Linked DNA regions of Homo sapiens: region 1 is linked to region 2. Evidence: promoter capture Hi-C in human tissues and cell types (Jung and others, 2019). All regions are on one chromosome and are shown on one strand. The core of a region is centred on a gene start or on the middle of the fragment in contact, and the rest is flanking DNA. Distances in the headings are between cores, read along the strand shown. Region 1 holds the start of ABCA10 (ATP binding cassette subfamily A member 10). Region 2 holds the start of FAM20A (FAM20A golgi associated secretory pathway pseudokinase).

Region 1 (3,292 bases), core at 390-2,889, 630 kb after region 2:
ATTGAATTTGGCCATGGAACTAGATGATATGGAATTATTTTTAATTTTGTGTAGTGGGATAGTGGTAATGTAGGGAACCAAGTTCTTAATTTTTTGAGATACTAAAATATTTAGCCATTACATATATTTTAGGGAAGAAGAGGAGACAGAGAGATGAAGCAAAGATGGCAAGATGTTAACAGCTGTCAAATCTGGATGGTGGATGTATAGGTGTTCATTGTACCAATATTTTCACATTTCTGGATTGACATACTTTTTTTAAATTCTAGTGAGTAATAAATATAGATGTATCCTTCTTCAATATACGAAGCAAAATATTTGATCGAACTGCTTCGGAAGCTATTGCAGAAATTTAAAAGGATGATATAAATCCTGTTAGCTCCCACTGAAATGGTACTGACTATTTCTGAACAGACTGCAATCTCTACATGGTCAAGGCAGATCCAGTTATATCTCATAGTAACACAAAGCAATGTCTTAATATTCATGTCAGCATACAAGAAACTCAACAGAATGCAAAGGTATTGACAATCTGTGATCTTATTCCATGAAACCATTCTATGTTTACAAAAAGCACGGCTTTGAAGAGATTCCAAAAAAGTTTGCAGATTTTTACTCATAGATATTTTCCCAGCCTTACCAAATAACATGACATTAATCGAAATGTCCCCAAATAGTATCAGGGTTTGCCCACGTAAAAATCTATTTTATTTTGCCTAGCTTATCTTTCCCCTGGCTGTCCCTGCCCCCAACACAGAAGTTAGCTAAGAGTAAATCAGAATGACTCTGAGATTTGAATGCATTAATTATGTGGAAAATGGCTGGTTCTATTCTGCAAAAGATTATTTTTCAGGAGCTGTCAGATGAGCTTTTTAGTTAATTTCACATTTGACACAAATATTATCCTATTTTGCAAAATATATATCGTTTTGCAGTATTTAGAATCTCAAATCAACTAGCCAGTATGATAATTAAAAATCAGAATTTATAAACAAGAAAAGTAATAAAAATGGCATAATACTATATGGTGGATTTTCATTTATTAATTATGGATATATATATATATATATAGTGAATCATACCAATAAACTCTCTTTTTATTCTCCATTTTTTAAGAAAATTCTTGTACAGAAGAGCCTGAATTTGTTGACGCACGCTTATCTCTTTTTTAACCATTTTGTCCTGTTCATTAACAGGGTAAAGTAAATATTGCAGAGCAATAGCTAGGGGAAAAAAGAAAAAAAAAAAGTTCAGTTACAGAAAGCCTTTGAACATTTTGAAAGCATAATTTTCAGATGTGCCAACTAAATGCCTTATATGACACTGTAGCAACATATTCAATCAGGATTTTAAAAAAGAATATAAAGTATTAGTAATTATAAAATGTCTTCTCAGTTGTTATTTCTCTCCAGGCTTTTATGGCTATGAGGGAGATAAAGGAGATAGTATATAAGACCTTTCTCCTTTTGTCTCAGAAGTCACTTTTTTTCCATGAAATCTTAACATTACATCCACCTAAAGTAAATCCCTCAATAAGATCTTAGTAATTTTTAGAATCCAAAAAACACTTTCTCTTTACTTGTTAAGAAAAAGAAGTTTAACAGGAAGAAACCACTTTGCAGTTCCTTGTCAGTCAGCAATTTGACCACAAGCTGTCTTATTTTGAATTGCACATCTGGGCACATGTATTTGATATCTTGTTAACCACTGGGCAAAGCAAAGTCGAAAACATTACGGCCATTCTTAGAATCCCAAAAAGCTAATTCCTCTTTTTTAAATCTCCATTTATGAAGTAAATATGTAAGATACATACAGATTAAAACCAAAAATATTGGCTAATATGACTAGAGTAATTGATTTGTAATAATGATCCTTATTCTTTGTTTTCAATTTGAAAATCCAGAGCTGATCATTTGGTGTCACAACTATGACTACTGAAGTCCATTTGAATAAATGTTGATATTATATACAAATTACAATGTTCAGAGAGAACTTGCTATATTTCCCCTTTTTCATAAAATAAAAGGCAAAGCCAGCAAAACCCAATATAATCTCTAAATTCTAACTTAAGAAAGTAGAAACATTAAAACACCAATCTTCACTTTATGGATACAGAGGTCTACTTAAACAGCTCCATAAGCAAACCACAAAAACATTTTAAAAGAACAAAAGAACACAGAAAAAAGGAACTTGCCCTAATGCTCACACATTCTAAAGAAGTAAAACCATACAAATTCTCAAAAGGATATTCAAAGCAGTGTCAGAGAGAGAATTTATTGTCTGATAATATTTATATACACCTCTGAATCTAGCCATCTTTCATTTATCACACTAAAATGTTACATAAGTTTTTAAAATAAAATAACTCACTAGTACTATAACATAAAGCATAAAATAATTTAGAGCATCTGAATAATATAATTTTAAAAATTTCAATCAATATGTTTGGCTTTGGCTATATACTTTATATCTTTAAAACCTTATGCAAAGTGAAAATGTAAAACAAATTTTAACTTACAGTTAAGAAAATAAGAGAGAAGTATTTGAAGCACTTGGATCCACTGGTCTCTTTTTGTCCAAGAAAACAATGAAGAATCCTTCAAGGACTCCTCTACAAATGGTTGCCTCTTTTAAAACTGTTTTGATTCAGCTTGGCTTCTGAAAAGCCATGGTCTGTGTGTAGAACATGCCAACAAATTCTGTTGGTTTTTTCCCTATGTTTTTCTCCTTGTCCAGTTACTCTTCAGAGAGTGTAATGAATTGTTGGCTGAGCGCATCATTGGTATTTGTTTATTGCTCTTTTTGGCATACACACAAAAAAAGAGATCAAATTCAAAAAGAAAAACCCACATATTTACAATTGCATGGATAACTACATATTTACAATTGCATGACTTTTAATAATTAAAAATTTGACAGCCAAGCTAAAAAAGGAGCAAATTAAAGATAAAGTTGAACAGAGAGAGAGAAAATGAGGATTGCTCATCTCAGAAATCTGAATCATTCCAATGAGAAAGTTTCATCTGAAAGTTAACTGCATTTCAGTTAAATGGTTCCTTGTATTCACTAATTCCTATGTACTAGAAAGTGTTCTAAGGGTTTAAATGAATTCTCCCATTTGATACTCAAAGCAAACCTACAAAGTTGGTACTCTACTCACATCCATTAAACAAATTTGAAAGGTGGGGCTAACAGGTGAAGTTATTTGCAGATGTTTAAATAAGTGTGAAGCCAACAGATGAGTCCAGAATAGTATCTGGACTCCAAGATCCCTCACTCTTAACTACCACTA
Region 2 (3,504 bases), core at 49-2,548:
GGGACTGGACTGTGAGGTCTGCAACAGCTGGTGGGGTTCGGGTGGGGAACACACTCTAAGCCCAGCGCCAGGGCTGGAGCCGTGGGTGGAGCCGCTGCAGCCCTGGGCCGGGGGCGTCAGGAAACTCGAGACTGGGGCGCGGGGAGGCCCCGGCCAGAGCGCCCGCTCTCCCGCGTCCCGGGCGGGGTCCTCACCTGTTCCAGCGGGCCACCTTCCTCCGGTAATACCGCAGCGCCTCCTGGCTGGCCAGGAGCGAGTCCTCGGCTCCCAGGAGAGGCGGCTCCTCCGGGACGTTGTACAGCGGGTGGGCGAAGAGGGCCTGCAACTTGGAGCTCGACCCGCTGTGGCTGCCGCCAGCCGGTTCAGTCCGGGGCTCGGTTCGGGAAAAGTTGTGCACGATCGTGCCGGGGTCCGAGGCAGCTGCGGCCGAGTCCCGCGCCAGGGAGGAGGCGCGGCCGGTGCACGGGCACCCCCGCGGGCGCTCCCGAGGCCGCAGCTGGCGCTGTACTTGGGGCCAGAGGTGGAAGTAGAGGTCGGCGGAGAGCAGCGCGCCCAGCAGCAGCAGAGTCAGTAGGCGGTCCCGGCGCAGCCCCGGCATGGCGTGCTGGCCAAGGGGGACGCCGGGGGCAGGCCGGCTGTCTCCGGGGTCCCGGGAGGGGTCGCGGGGTGCGGGCAGAAGAGGTGCCTGGAGTCCCGCGGGTGGGCCGGGGTCAGTGAGACCGGAATGCTCCCCGCGCGGGCTAGTCCCCTGTGGAGGGGTGTCGCTCCTCAACTTGGGGACCAGGTGCACGGAGCACCGGGGCTCTCGGAGTCAGCGGGCGTCGCTTCTCCGCGCCGAGTGAGCCGAGGGAATGGGGTTCCCGGGGTGCCCGCTTCTTGCGCCTTTTCTCCCGTGCGCCCGCCCGCCCGGACGCTCGCGGCAGGTGAAGGGCCCCGGGGCGCCGGCGCCGGCTGCCACCGCGGGCGGACGGGCGACGGGGCGGGGGGCGACCGCGGAGGGCGGACGGAGGCCGCCGGCTGCAAAGCCCGGGGCGTCTCTCCTGAGGATGCTGTCGCTCGGCGGCGGCTGCTAGTGCTCCCGCGACTCCTCCTGCGGGCGGCGGAGACGCCAGTGCCGGCGGCTGGCACGGGCGGCGCGAGTGGGGAGTTGGCGAAGCAGGAGCGGCTCCGGGGAGCTTGTCTGTGCGCCTGGACTCCTAGAGGCAGAGGTAGCGCGGGGCCTCCCCGAGCCTGGCCTGGCGCCGGCACCCCCACCCACTCTCCGCTGGCACCTGCCTCTGGCGCAGCTGACGGCCAACTCCCGATCCGAAGCCGGCGCTGCCCTTGCACCTTGTCACCCACCCACTGCCTGCGCCCTCCCCCTCGCTCGGGCCTCCCACTTTCCCTGCCCAGGTCTCAATCCAGTCACTTTAAGGGACTCACGCGAGGGGTCCGAAGCCTCTTTTTACCATTTCTATTATTTTTAGGGAAAAAAAAACCACCACAAGCCCCCTAAAACCCTTTTTTTCCTGTAAGCTTTGCCAAATGAGTGTGTGGGGGGGGGTGGGGGGAGGCGGGGGTGGCAGTGTTGGTATCTGTTCTTTCTTTGTGTTCCCTTCCACCTCCGCCCCCCTGCAGAGCGCAGGGCACATCAAGATTCATAACAACTACCTACCACATGCCTGGCACATAGTAGGTGCTCAGGAAACACGCTCTTGGTGAAGGAAAGAGCTTGACCTTTAAAAGTAAGGTATCAGTTTTACCTAGAATCTTGCTGATTTCCTGTTTGGAAGGAGTTTGATTCCAACTCTGCCTGTACTTTAAAAAGAGGAAATGTTTCTTGCACTCAGGGAGGGAGGGGCCCTGATGACCCCACTCCGAACTTTTGAGTTTAGCTTGGTGTGAAAGTAGTCCACCCAAATGAATCACTGGAGGACACATTTAGGCTTTCTCCAATATTCTGTGAGGTAATGTACCCTCCCCACACCCAGTTTTCCTTTTGAAGAAGAGGGAGGGAGTCCTGAACTCCTGGCTCCTCTATTTAATGACCCCATAGTATAGTAAAGTGAAGTCTGATTGGAGAGGCGGCCCCACCCTGCTGAATTTCAGGAAATCCACCAGAAGCTGCTTGCCCAGGCAGCAAAGCTTCCCATGTAAGTTAGTTCTACTCTTTAACCCCCTCCCTTCCCTTGCTGGAATTGAGAACCCTCAGACATACTTTGACTTGTGGGTTCAGACCAGAGTTCTTTTCCCCGTGGTTCAGTGTAAGATTTCTTCGGGACTTTGCAGTCTCCTCAAATGTAAATGAAGATAATGATGGAACCTACCTCCTAAGGTTATTATGAGACTTAAATGAATTGAAGTACAATTATGTGTCACGTCTGAGAAATGCATCCTTAGGCAATTTTCCTGTGTGTGTGAACATCAGGGTGTACTTACACAAACCTAGATGGTTCAGCCTACTACACACGGAGGCTACATGGCATAGCCTGTTGATCCTAGGTACAAACCTGTACAGCATGCGACTACTGAATGCTGTAGGGAGTTGTAACACAGTGGTGAGTACTTGTGTGTCTAAACATAGGAAACATACAGTAAAAATACAGTATTGTAATCTTATGGGACCACTGTTGCATTGACTAAAATGTTATGTGGCACTTGACTATGTATAAATTACTTAGAAGAGCTCCTAACTCATCCTAAATAAGTGTGAAATATGTGTTTGCTATCATTATGATTACTTATTAGTTCCTGTAGTACACTAGGCTTGGTTAGAGACTGCTCATCGCTAGGACAAAAATAGAAAAGGATGGAAAAGGAAGATAGCAGGAAGGAACCTGCTTTCAGGGGCATAACATTGTGGCCTGAGTGCCCAGTCCAAGTGAAAAAGCCCAAGACGGTACTATTCCCAGCTACTCCACTCCTCTGGGTATGATGGTGGGCATTTTGAGGGGTTCTAGAACCTCCTCCTTTTTATCTGGAATTAAATTTTAACTGATTTCCAATTTCTGAGAGACGTTGCAACTTCTAATGTGTTTAATTAGATGTCATGGCAAGCGAATGAAGAAGTCAGGCATTGAATGGTGGTGATGTAACTGCAGTAACTGTGTGGCAAACTGATGCGCATTTTTCTCGGCTGGCAAAGGACGTGGATGTGGTGACACTGCAGGTCTTGTGACTTCAATTCTCCTCAACCCATGGGGTCATACTCGCTTAGTAGACTCTTTTTTTTCTGGCCCCAATTTAGGGAACAATAGTGTAACTTGCTTGGAAATTATGTAAACATATTTTCCATGCCCTTTAAAGGTCACAGTCAAGTGCAGAACTGCATGTGGGAGTTAGATATTAAGTGTGAATGAAGCTGGATAGGAGAGTGGAAATCCTACCAGTAGGATTGGCCAATAGGATGTTGGCTTCCTCAGGTTTGCCTCTAATCTACCTTTACCCCTCCTAGAAATGAGCCTTCTCCTGCTCCTCCGATCTTCCATGTCTTGGGCCCTGGCTTACTTGCCAGCCTCACATACA

The links. Contacts are between HindIII fragments. The study calls those that stand out against the background at their distance.
Region 1: a contact is called between a fragment that was not itself captured here and the fragment with the promoter of FAM20A in region 2, in 2 of the 25 tissues and cell types used here (dorsolateral prefrontal cortex and mesendoderm cells).

What each region holds. Positions count from the first base shown.
Region 1 is chr17:69,226,063-69,229,354 of GRCh38, forward strand. It overlaps ABCA10 (ATP binding cassette subfamily A member 10), which reads right to left and starts at 2,762. Exons shown (of 39, transcript NM_001377321.1): 1 at 2,519-2,762; 2 at 1,083-1,223. The HindIII fragment of the contact is 7,757 bases long and covers 1-3,292 here.
Region 2 is chr17:68,600,069-68,603,572 of GRCh38, forward strand. FAM20A (FAM20A golgi associated secretory pathway pseudokinase) reads right to left here and starts at 1,299. Exons shown (of 11, transcript NM_017565.4): 1 at 195-1,299. The coding sequence starts at 598. The HindIII fragment of the contact is 4,098 bases long and covers 1-1,819 here.